Regions from separate parts of the Homo sapiens genome. Here regions 1 and 2 are each linked to region 3. The links are contacts of gene promoters, found by promoter capture Hi-C in human tissues and cell types (Jung and others, 2019). All regions are on one chromosome and are shown on one strand. Each heading gives the region's core, a stretch centred on a gene start or on the middle of the fragment in contact. The rest is flanking DNA. Distances are from core to core; before and after follow the strand shown. Region 1 overlaps SMOX (spermine oxidase). Region 2 has its middle 5.7 kb from the start of RNF24. Region 3 holds the start of ADAM33 (ADAM metallopeptidase domain 33).

Evidence for each region. Contacts are between HindIII fragments. The study calls those that stand out against the background at their distance.
Region 1: a contact is called between a fragment that was not itself captured here and the fragment with the promoter of ADAM33 in region 3, in 1 of the 25 tissues and cell types used here (spleen).
Region 2: a fragment that was not itself captured here is called in contact with the fragment with the promoter of ADAM33 in region 3 in 1 of the 25 tissues and cell types used here (liver).

Annotation. Positions count from the first base shown.
Region 1 is chr20:4,182,292-4,186,076 of GRCh38, forward strand. It overlaps SMOX (spermine oxidase), which reads left to right. Exons shown (of 7, transcript NM_175839.3): 5 at 1-557; 6 at 1,203-1,363. Among named protein-coding and RNA genes, the nearest start is that of LINC01433, 8.9 kb to the right of the region's middle. The HindIII fragment of the contact is 6,680 bases long and covers 1-3,785 here.
Region 2 is chr20:4,019,309-4,023,178 of GRCh38, forward strand. No RefSeq gene overlaps it. Among named protein-coding and RNA genes, the nearest start is that of RNF24, 5.7 kb to the left of the region's middle. The HindIII fragment of the contact is 4,326 bases long and covers 1-3,870 here.
Region 3 is chr20:3,679,455-3,683,466 of GRCh38, forward strand. It overlaps ADAM33 (ADAM metallopeptidase domain 33), which reads right to left and starts at 2,556. Exons shown (of 22, transcript NM_025220.5): 1 at 2,454-2,556; 2 at 38-117. The coding sequence starts at 2,550. RefSeq lists an enhancer at 1,981-2,874. The HindIII fragment of the contact is 20,528 bases long and covers 484-4,012 here.

The DNA of each region.
Region 1 (3,785 bases), core at 812-3,311, 500 kb after region 3:
CCGCCCCAGAGGCCCTGAGATTGAGCCCCGGGGTGAGGGCGACCACAATCACGACACTGGGGAGGGTGGCCAGGGTGGAGAGGAGCCCCGGGGGGGCAGGTGGGATGAGGATGAGCAGTGGTCGGTGGTGGTGGAGTGCGAGGACTGTGAGCTGATCCCGGCGGACCATGTGATTGTGACCGTGTCGCTAGGTGTGCTAAAGAGGCAGTACACCAGTTTCTTCCGGCCAGGCCTGCCCACAGAGAAGGTGGCTGCCATCCACCGCCTGGGCATTGGCACCACCGACAAGATCTTTCTGGAATTCGAGGAGCCCTTCTGGGGCCCTGAGTGCAACAGCCTACAGTTTGTGTGGGAGGACGAAGCAGAGAGCCACACCCTCACCTACCCACCTGAGCTCTGGTACCGCAAGATCTGCGGCTTTGATGTCCTCTACCCGCCTGAGCGCTACGGCCATGTGCTGAGCGGCTGGATCTGCGGGGAGGAGGCCCTCGTCATGGAGAAGTGTGATGACGAGGCAGTGGCCGAGATCTGCACGGAGATGCTGCGTCAGTTCACAGGTGCGCCACGTGCCCCACGACCCGCTTCCCCCACCCTGCTTCTTCCTCACCTGCCCTCCTCTGGTGGACCCATGGCAGCTCTCTCCTCCCCAGACCGTGAAGCTCGGATGCTGTGCCCCACGGGAGAGCCACTGCAGGGTGCCACATTCAGCCAAAGGCTCTTCAGTTGCTGACAGTTTAGAACTTGACACACTCAGAATTATGGGCGCTGTGTCTCTTCCCCCTTTCTAAAGGCTGATGGTAAAACACTCAGAGATCACCGCCCATTGTGCTCTGTTGCTAAGAGCTGGATTTGCCTTTTACTCTCTGAGTCTTTCAGCTCAACATTTTTCACCCACTATTCCAGGAGGACCTCACGAGAACCCCCGATATTAGGCGGGGAAACATGATTATGTGTCATGTGTTTTCAGATAGATAGGAAAAGTAAGGTGGAGCGTTTTGCCGGGGGTCACAGGAGGCGCTGAGTGGGTACACAGCTCGAGCCCCAGCCTCCCTCCTTCCTCTTCTATCCTCCGTGCCTACCCCTGGCAGTCTGGTCCTCCCGGAGCCCTGGAGGTGGGGTGGGGGGTTGTCCCTTTGGGGTCATCTTCCATATGCAGCCATTTCTTATCCTCCCTCCTCTTGGCTTTTCTGACTCTCCATCAGGGAACCCCAACATTCCAAAACCTCGGCGAATCTTGCGCTCGGCCTGGGGCAGCAACCCTTACTTCCGCGGCTCCTATTCATACACGCAGGTGGGCTCCAGCGGGGCGGATGTGGAGAAGCTGGCCAAGCCCCTGCCGTACACAGAGAGCTCAAAGACAGCGGTAAGCGGGGCGTTTGGGGTGAGGAGGGGAGTTGTGGGTGTATTTTGTATGTGTGTCCGGTCCAGGGTGAGGAGGGCTAGGGTAGTGTTCACTAAGGGGTGCTCAGGTGAGGCAGGGATGGAGTAGCTTCTGTAATGAGAGAGAACACAAGGAAAAAAGTGTGCACTTAATATCTGGAAGAAAAAATGGAATCAAATTGAAACTTAAAATGTTTTCTTGATGTTATGAAAACTGAGCTATTCCATGCTGTGCTGGCCAATACGGTAGCTATCAGCCACTTTCAATTTAAATTAATTTATTAAAAATTTAAATTAATACAGTATTTTTTTTTTCTTTTTTGAGACAGGGTCTTGCTCTGTCTACACTTCAGGCTGGGGTATAGTGGTGTGATCACAGCTCACTGCAGCCTTGACCTCCTGGGCTCAAGTGATCCTCCCACCTCAGCCTCCCAACTAGCTGGGACCACAGGCATGCCGGCACGCCACCATGTCCAGCTAATTTTTGTACTTTTTTTTTTTTTTTGGTAGAGATGGGGTTTCATCATACTGCTAGGCTGGTCTTGAACTCTTGGGCTCAAGCTGTCCTCCCGCCTCAACCTCCTGAAGTGCTAGGATTATAGGAATGAGCCACCACACTTGGCCAATACAGTAAAGTTTTTGTTCCTTGGTTGCACTAGTCACATTTCAAGTTCAACAGCCACATGTGGCTAGAGGTTACCATAGTAAAGTACATAGCGATAGGAATGTCCTATTGGACAGCACTGATTCAATGGAAATGTTTTCCCAATATATTTCAGAAAATAAAGTTTAGATTACTGATGCTCCACAATATGCCAACTGTACACTAAAAAAAAAAAATCTGAAATATATATTTATGCTCCCATAAAGTGGATTTTGAGTTTCCCCCATCAAGTAGACACACACAGTAAATGTTAAAACTCAACAGTTATATTTAAAACAATTATTTGGTATAATTGGTGAAGAAGAGTTCAGTCAACCAGCATCTACTATGCCTGCCCAACGGTGCTCAGATGGAGAGAGAAAAGGGCTGGTGTTTAAAGAGAGAGAGGTCCTCAGAAAGGCCCTTTCTGCTGCCACAGCCATCCTCCTAAAAAGCAAATCTTCTCTTTTCACTTGCATCAGTTAGGACTAGTGCATGTAGCAAAAAGCAAAGCAAAGCAAACACAACTGTGACTTAAACAAGGAAAATCAAAAGGAAATCTGGAGGCAGGCAGCAGGATCCCGTATCATTAGCACCTGGCTCTCATCTTCAAGACCATCTTGTGGTCCAAGAGGGCTGCAGAAGCTCCAGTTCTCACATCTGCATCTTAGGCTAGAAGGAAGAGGAAAGGCAGATGGCAAGAAGGGAACCCTTGGAGCTGAGTCAGCTGTGTCTCTAAGCAACAGTGCACTTTAATGCTTATTGGCCAGAACATAGACACATGACTGCACCTAGCTGCTACAGAGGCTGGGCAGTATCATTTTTATTCTGGATGGCAATGGACCCAGTTAAAAATCAGGACTTTGTTATTGAGGAGAAAGAGGAGAATGGTTGGATGTGGGAGTGGTCCCAGCTACTTGGGAGGCTGAGGTGGGAGGATCACTTGAGCCCAGGAGGTCAAGGCTGACACAGTATACAACACCCCTTTCAGTGTAACAGCCTCTGTGGGCTCCTTGGTGGTGGGATTACAGCCTCACTACTCAGGGTAGGTAGATCAGTACCAGCCTCACCTGGGAGCTAGTTAGAAATGCAGATTCTCAGCCTGGCCAACATGGCGAAACCCTGTCTCTACTAAAAATACAAAATTAGCCAGGCATGGTGGTGCACACCTGTAGTTCTAGCTACTTGGGAGGCTGAGGCATGAGAATTGCTTGAAGCTGGGAGGCGGAGGTTGCAGTGAGTTGAGATCATGCCATTGCACTCCAGCCTGGGTGACAGAGCGAGACCCTGTCTCAAAACAAAAACCAAAAAACAACAACCCCTGGCGCCCTAAACACACACACACACAAATAAATAAATAAATAAAAAGAAATGCAGATTCTCAGCCTGGCCAACATGGCGAAACCCTGTCTCTACTAAAAATACAAAATTAGCCAGGCATGGTGGTGCACACCTGTAGTTCTAGCTACTTGGGAGGCTGAGGCATGAGAATTGCTTGAAGCTGGGAGGCGGAGGTTGCAGTGAGTTGAGATCATGCCATTGCACTCCAGCCTGGGTGACAGAGCGAGACCCTGTCTCAAAACAAAAACCAAAAAACAACAACCCCTGGCGCCCTAAACACACACACACACAAATAAATAAATAAATAAAAAGAAATGCAGACTCTCAGCCCACCCCAGACCTGCTGGATTAAAAACTGCATTCTGGCCAGGGATGCAGGCTCCTGCCCATAATCCCAGCACTATGGGAGGCCGAAGTGGGA
Region 2 (3,870 bases), core at 707-3,206, 340 kb after region 3:
TTTAGTAGAGACGGGGTTTCTCCATGTTGGTCAGGCTTGTCTCAAACTCCTGACCTGAGGTGATCCACCTGCCTCGGCCTCCGAAATTGCTGGGATTACAGGTGTAAGCCACCACGCCCAGCCCTTATACCTCCTTTTAAGCAATGTCCTCACCCCAAATCCATCTCAGAAAATTGTCCCTACCCATATGGTCAGAAGTCCTTCAAGACTCCTGGAAAAGAAATCACAACTACTTTTAAATCAAACGTCTGACTAATTTTGGAACAGTGAGAACAGGGGCTGGTTTTAGTCATCTTTGGATCAGGTGCCCAATACAAGTTTGTTGAATGAATGCCTGACTGGTCAAGACAAAATCAGTCTTTCAAACAGAAGCTAGAAATCAAAGGTTGCCTATAGCCCCATTCCTCTGTCCATCCTCCCCATCTGTTGAGATGGCACGATTTCAGAAAAACATCCCTCCCACTGGTCAATCCTTTGAAAGCTTAATTATTCAGAGTTCTAAATGACCCCTTTAAGGGTTGATCATATAATGCTTTGACCCGTTGGACTGTGCCAGTAGAGGAGGAGATGTTCTGTGTTCCCCGAGCCTCTTCATCCAAGAATTCCAAAGTGACTCCTCCTGCCTTGATCCCTCCCAATGGCCCTCTCCTCCTCATAGCCCATGGGGACCTCTTGCTGGGGCGTGACGCTGCCCACGGAGGGGTGGAATTGCTTCTTCTTTTTTTTTTTTTAGATGAAGTCTCTCTGTCGCCCAGGCTAGAGTGCAGTGGTGCAATCTTGGCTCACTGTAACCTCCGCCTCCTGGGTTCAAGTGATTCTCCTGCCTCAGCCTCCCGAGTAGTTGGGATTACAGGCACCTGCCACTGCGCCCAGCTAATTTTTGTATTTTTAGAAGAGACAGGGTTTCACCATCTTGGCCAGGCTGGTCTCGAACTCCTGACCTCAAGATCCACCCGCCTCGGCCTCCCAAAGTGCTGGAATTACAGGCATGAGCCACCGGAATTGCTTCTTAATGCAGAATGTGTGTGCAAGACTGTGAAACAGCAAGAGTTGGGGAGAAAGCGTAGGTTTCTGTGTGCATGGTACCTTTAGGACTGGCTGTGTGTCCACCCACAAGCCAGCGAAGGAGGTGGGAACCTGGGATTCTGTTTACCCAGCCACCAACAAGCCCCGTTGCCTTTCTGGCACACACAAGCCCAATCACCCAGAACTCCTGAAAATATAAATGTTCTCAAGATCTCATGTGGGAGCTTTTTAGCTGAGACCAGCCACACATGCAGGAGACTGGAAGCACTATTTCCCAGGGGTGGAACAACCTGCTCAGACTCACTTTTAGATTGGAGGATACCCATCTCAGCGTGGATTCTCCCAAGAACAGATCTTAAGACAAGGGCTTGGATGTAGGTAATTTACTTGGGAGGTGATTCCAGGAAATAAGAGTGAAGAAATGGGGAAAGCAAGCTGTGAAAGGGAGAGAAGCCAACAGTAAGGTATGCTGATGGGCCAGTTACTGCCATGGGCAACTGAGGCTCAGTCTGGCTTGGCGTCCACTGAGAAACCTTGTAGAACAGCCCTCAGCATTGTCTGCCTGGATGACCAGGAGGCCAGAGTATTTCTCCACTGACTTCAGTGTCTTGGTTGCTTTTCTTTTCTTTTTTTTTTTGAGACGGAGTTTCGCTCTTGTTGCCCAGGCAGGAGTGCAGTGGCATGATCTCAGCTCACTGCAACCTCCGCCTCCCGGGTTCAAGAGATTCTCCTGCCTCAGCCTCTCAGGTAGCTGGGATTACAGGCATGCGCCACCATGCCTGGCTAATTTTGTATTTTTTTAGTAGAGACGGGGTTTCTCCATGTTGGTCAGGCTGGTCTTGAACTCCCGACCTCACGTGATCCACCTGCCTTGGCCTCCCAAAGTGCTGGGATTACAGGCATGAGCCACCGCGCCTGGCCCTCTTTTCTTTTCTTTTCTTTTTTTGAGACAGAGTCTCACTCTTGTCACCCAGGCTGGAGTGCAGTGGCGCCATCTAGACTCATTGCAACCTCTGCCTCCTGGTTGTTCAAGTGATTCTTGTGCCTCAGCCTCCTGAATAGTTGGGATTACAGGCGTGTGCCACCATGCCCAGCTAAATTTTGTATTCTTAGTAGAGACAGGGTTTTGCCATGTTGGCCAGGCTGGTCTCAAAATCCTGGCCTTGAGTGATCTGCCCAGCTCAGCCTCCCAGAGGGTACTTTCAAGTTACATCTATGGAACAAAGCAAGCCGCTCTGCTAAGCTCCTCCAGTTATTGATTACACAACCCCCACAGCTGTGACCACCATTTGGCTACCACCATCATCACAGCTTCTGCCCCTCCAATTTCCCCCAGCCAATTATATCACTGCCTTTTCTCTCTGCTAGGTTCTGTTAGGCCTGAGCTTTAAAGAGAAAGGAATAAAGTGGAATGATATATCTTTGCCCATAACTCATTCTAGGAAAAAGGAACTATGCTGGTTTTCTTTTTCCTCCATTTCAACCTATCCAATCTACCCAAATAGTTCCCAATCATTATCACCTCATCCCAAAGCAACAGACGGGAAAGAGGAACAGGGCAAGAAAGCAGACAGGCTTTCTGGAGTGACTTTTATCCCCACAGAGTCATAGATGCAGAGTTGGAAGAGATGAATTCTCTCATTTGGGAGATAAGGACACCATGCAGATAAAGAGACTCTGTATCTTCTGCTTTTCCTGCTGCTGCAGTGCTTCCTCCAGGCAGGCTTCCTTAGTTTTTCTTGGCTTCCTACCCTTCCAACCTACGCCATCATAATCTGGACTCCAGCCCTTTATTCCCTCAAAGGCTGACTCAGGCCATGACTGAGGGAAGAAGCTTGGATTCTGTAGTGGAACAGCATTGTCCATGGGGAGACACGGCTTCCATCCCAGGCCTTTGGTTCCATTACTTAGTTTCTCACTTGCCTGTCTGTCATCCAAAGGGGCTCACAAGGAGGGGAATGCAGGGAGGAGACATCTCCCTAATACCATTGGAGTTTTTTTCCAGGTTAAGATGGTGCATTGAATCCACCCATCTACTTTTGCTCCTCCCAAAACTCACTAAAACTATTATAAAGGGATTTTGTTTAAAGACACAAACTCATGAGGACAGAGAGAACAGAGTAGACAATAGTGGGGGAAAAATAAGTTGGAAGATAGAAAACAGATGGGTGAGTGGTAATCGACTCAGCAGCCCCAAGAAAGCTGAAACCCAGGGAAAGTTAAGAGTAGCCCTATTTTCATGGCAAAATCCAAGGGGGGGTGGGGAAAGAAAGAAAAACAGAAAAAAAAATGGGAATTGGCAGTCCTAGATATCTCTGGTACTGGGCAAGCCAAAGAATCAGGATAACTGGGTGAAAGGTGATTGGGAAGCAGTTAAAATCTTAGTTCCCCTCTTCCACTCTCCGAGCAGCAGGTTTCTCTCTCTCATCAGGCAGAGGGCTGGAGATTTCACCTCCGGAGAGAGTAAAAAGGAGGATCTCTGGGCTGGGGCACCAGGCGTGGCTGAGGACAAAGGTGGCATGTGGAGAACAGGGGCGTTAAGTGACTATTTCCTCACTGCATGCTGAGAACCTCAGCTTTCTTCTCTGATCACTTCCCAAATCACTGGCAGCTACTCTCCACCTCTCTTCTCTGAGCACTCTGACCAGCCAAAAGGGAAAGAATGAAGGATACTGGCATTCAGATTTCCAGTAAACGACCATCCATGTCTCCCTACGGTGAATCACAGTTGACAAGCCCAGTTCCTGCACTCAGGGTTTTTCATAGTCCTTTACTCTTAATCAAGAGCAGAGAGCTAAAGATTATGTCTTAGGTTCCCTAGAAACAGAAGCTGTGATGCAGATT
Region 3 (4,012 bases), core at 1,306-3,805:
AGGGCCCCTGTGGAGGGCGGGGAGACATGGCACTGACCGGCTCCTCCAGGCTGACGGTGCGCCAGGGTTGTCCATCCAGGACCCAGTGCGGGGTGACTGGCTGCCCAGGGATATGTCCTGGAGTAAAGACAGAGCACAGGGTGAGGGGGACCTGAGGAACACAGGGGCATGGGACAAAGCAGAGGGAGGGGGGTAGAGGACATCCCCAGGGAGGCACTGGAGGCCTTTTGGGGCAGACTTCACCTTCAACACGCGTGGGCTCAGCCTGGAGAAGGAGGGACGCCCGTGGGCATCCTTGGATCTGAGGAGCTATCAAGGAGGAGGAAAAGAGAAGGCTGGAAAGGGACAGCTCAGCTGGGGACACGGGAGTCCCCTGACCTTTGTCGGGGGGCAGGCTTGGGCTCGGCGATCACAAGGAAGAGGCCAAGGCCGCCAGTGCAGAGGGGAAGGAAAGAGCGCGGCAGCCTTAGGGATTTTTAGATGGGCAGCAGATGCCTTTAGGGTGAGAGATGTACGAAGAGAGGACACTTGTGCCCCCCCCATCATCTGAGAAAAACAACAGCCAGATGTTGCCTTGCGAGGTCCACCTTGCCCAGAGCTCCCTCGGGGACTCTGTCCTGGTGGCAGGGTTTTGGTACCCTGGCCCAGAAGGCCCCTCCTCATCTCTTCAAGGGGAGGGGACGCTTCTGGACGGAGCCTTGGTGCTCCCTGGCCGGGTGTGCCTAAGGGGGCTCTAGGAGGAATCCCAGAGCCAAGCATTACTCAGAGGGCGCCTGGAATGTTCCCCTGGAATGCTCCCAGCCCTCCACTGGCCCCAACCACTCTCACAGGCCCGCCCTGCAGGAGCCAGGCCCCAGGCACCCAGAGCCTGCAGCAGCCCTCCTTCCCCCGGTACCCAGTCCCAGCTCCCAGAACAGACAGCCTCCCCCCTCCACGCAGCCCTGGCCTCAGTCCTGCTGGGCTGATGGCTGCCTGTGGAAGTGACTCAGCTCCTGCTAGGCCACCCCAACTCCTTTTTTCTCCTCCACCTTCTCTCCCAGACTACAAACATCAAAGACCCTTCCTCCAAGAAGCCCTCCTTGATTGGATGAGTGAATTGCCATCAGGCAGATGAGGGCCGAGAGGAGTCTGCCACCTTGGAAAGGAGGCTAGAGGGGCCAGTGCAGGGAGGGCTCTGAGTGGATGTGGGGGAGGGGAAGGAGGGGAGGTCTCTCAGCCCAGAGAGCACTTAACTGAGAGTAGAGAACCAAGCTTTGCTGCTCCTAGGCCTCTAAGGGTTTGGGGAAGAGGTAGGGTGGGCCCGGGCACAGGTGTGGTGTGGGTGCAGTGTGGTGTGTGGGTGCTGTCCACATGGCCTTGCGCGCACGTGCTGGCCACGGGCACCCTGACCCCAATGAGGGAGAGAGGGGCAGAGCTGGAGCTGGAGCTGGAGCTCCGGTGACCGGGTGAATGGGGGTGGAACCCGAGGGAGCCAGGCTGGTATTGGGCACATAGACGCCCCTCTCCCAGGGGTCCCATCACCTCCCCTGACCCCAGGATAGGGCTCAGAGGGGAGGGAGCAGTGGACCGCCTGGGGCCCTCCCCTGGGGCCAGAACAGACCAGGCCCCTGTACCTGTTTGGTCCCCACACAGTGCTGTGGAAGCCACCGCCCAGTCTGCATAGCACAGCCCAGCCCCGCATGCCCCCTCCCTGGTTGCCCTCCCTGTTCCCGGCCAGGCACTTGCTGTGCAGGACTGGCTAATCCTCCCACCCGCTTGCAGAGGTTGTTCCAGCCCCATCTTAACATCTTTGTTTGGAGGGGTTACCCCGAGGAGACAGCTGCAGTCTTCCCAGAGCACTGCTAAACAGACACCTTCTATCTGGAGAGGCCCTTCTCTATCTCACCAAACAAGGCAACAATATAAACAACATACACACTGCCCTGCTGCCCTGGGAGGAGGGACGAGGGGTGAGCAGGGTGGAGGCCACAGCTAGTTCTGCAGCCTGAGAGCAAAGCAGGGACTCTGGGGGACTCTTGGGCATGGGGGCTTCCTAGAGGACGGAGCCCCGCTGAGTCCTAAGGGGTGGAGGAGCAGGAGCGGGTCACACGGTGGCCTGCGGATGGAAGCTGGTTGTGAGAGCGAGAATCCAGGAAGAGGGGGCTACGGCTATGGGCTGGGGGCTGGGCTGCCCCCGAGGGGGAGGGAGCCATGCCCTCTGCTTTGCCAGCGGAGTGGCAGCCGGGCAGTGTGGGCAAGTCCGGGCCCGGGGCCAGCCCAAGCACACTTGAGCGTCCCTGGGCAGGTCCCACGGAGACCCCCCCAAAGAGTCCCCACGCCCTGACCTACTGGCCGTATGGTGCCGGGGCCGTGAGACCCTCCGCGCGCTGACCCGAGCTCTGAGCAGAACCCATCCCCGCCACCACCACCGCGCCTAGCCTGCCCCTCAGGGCGCACCCCGCCCGCGTCCTCACCTTGAAGCACCCCGGCGCCTGGCACTGGCCAGAGCAGCAGCAGTAGTAGCAGCAGCAGCAACGGGGTCCCCCGAGCTCTCCGGGGCCTCCAGCCCATAGCTGTGAGCTCCTCGGCCTCTAGGCAGCGGCTCGCAACTCCGGCTCCGCCCAGGCTGGATTGCGGCCGACCCGTGCCCGGTGCAGCCTCAGGCCGCCGCCTTCGGACCTTCCCGCCCCCACCTCCCACCGCCCGCCCTCGCTCCCGCCTCCCCTCCCCGCCAACCCCGCTCGGAGCCTGGCCAGGGGCCCCGACGGCGCGCGCCATGGGGGAGCCGGGTCGCCACTCCCGGACCGCCGCCCCTCGAGGGGGTGGAGCTGGGCGGAGGAGGGAATCCGTGCGGCCCCTCGGATGACCGGCCCGAGCCGTCCCTCCCCGTCGGTCTCAGAGGGCCTCTACTCCTGAGAGGAGGAGAGAACCGCTGGGAAGGTTCTTGGAGGACCGCGGCGTGGTGGGATGAGGCGGTGGGCAAAGGCCGCCTCTCGCTGCTGAAGTTGGCCCCAGGAGCGCGATCTTCCGTGGTCTCCTGGGGCCGATCTCTGTCCCCTCCTTGCTACCCGTCCTGCCCCGAGGGTGCCCTGGCGGAGGTTGAGTCGGGTCATCCACCTGCACTGGGTGCCCCCAAGGATAGGAAGGTTCAGGCAACCGGCTGCCGCTGTCTTGGGGGCTTCATTGCTGGGCAAAGGCGATGCAGCAGACGGAGACAACCTTTCTTCCCTGGCGGTGGCCAGAGGGCAGAATTGCATAAAAGCTGCAGACTCCCAGGCCTGGGAGACCCTTTCGGCCTCAGTAACATCTGTTTCATGTTTTAAACTTTTGTTTTCCTACTCGGTGCAAATTTGGATGAGATGTTAACTTTTTTTTTTTTTTTTTTTTTGAGATGGAGTCTCCCTCTGTCGCCAGGCTGGAGTGCAGCGGCGCGATCTTGGCTCACTGCAACCTCCGACTCCCTGGTTCAAGCGATTCTCCTGCCTCAGCCTCCCGAGTAGCTGGGACTACAGGCGCGCGCTACCACCCCCAGCTAACTTTTGTATTTTTAGCAGAGACGAGGTTTCACCATTTTGGCCAGGATGGTCTCAATCTCCTGATCTCGTGATCCACCCGCCTCGGCCTCTCAAAGCGCTGGGATTACAGGCATGAGCCACCGCGCCCGGCCGGAGATGTTAACTTTTAAGCAAATCTTTTTTTTTTTTTTTTTTTTTTGAGACAGAGTTTCTCTCTTGTTACCCAGACTGGAGTGCAATGGCATGATCTGGGCTCACTGCAACCTCTGCCTCCCAGATTCAAGTGATTCTTCTGCCTCAGCCTCCCGAGTAGCTGGGATTACAGGCATTCGCCACCACGCCTGGCTAATTTTGTATTTTTAGTAGAGATGGGGTTTCTCCATGTTGGTCAGGCTGGTCTCGAACTCCCGACCTCAGGTGATCTGCCCGCCTCGGCCTCCCAAAGCGCTGGAATTACAGGCGTGAGACACCGCACCCAGCCTACTTTTAAGTAAATCTATTTGTTTTTGAGAATTTGG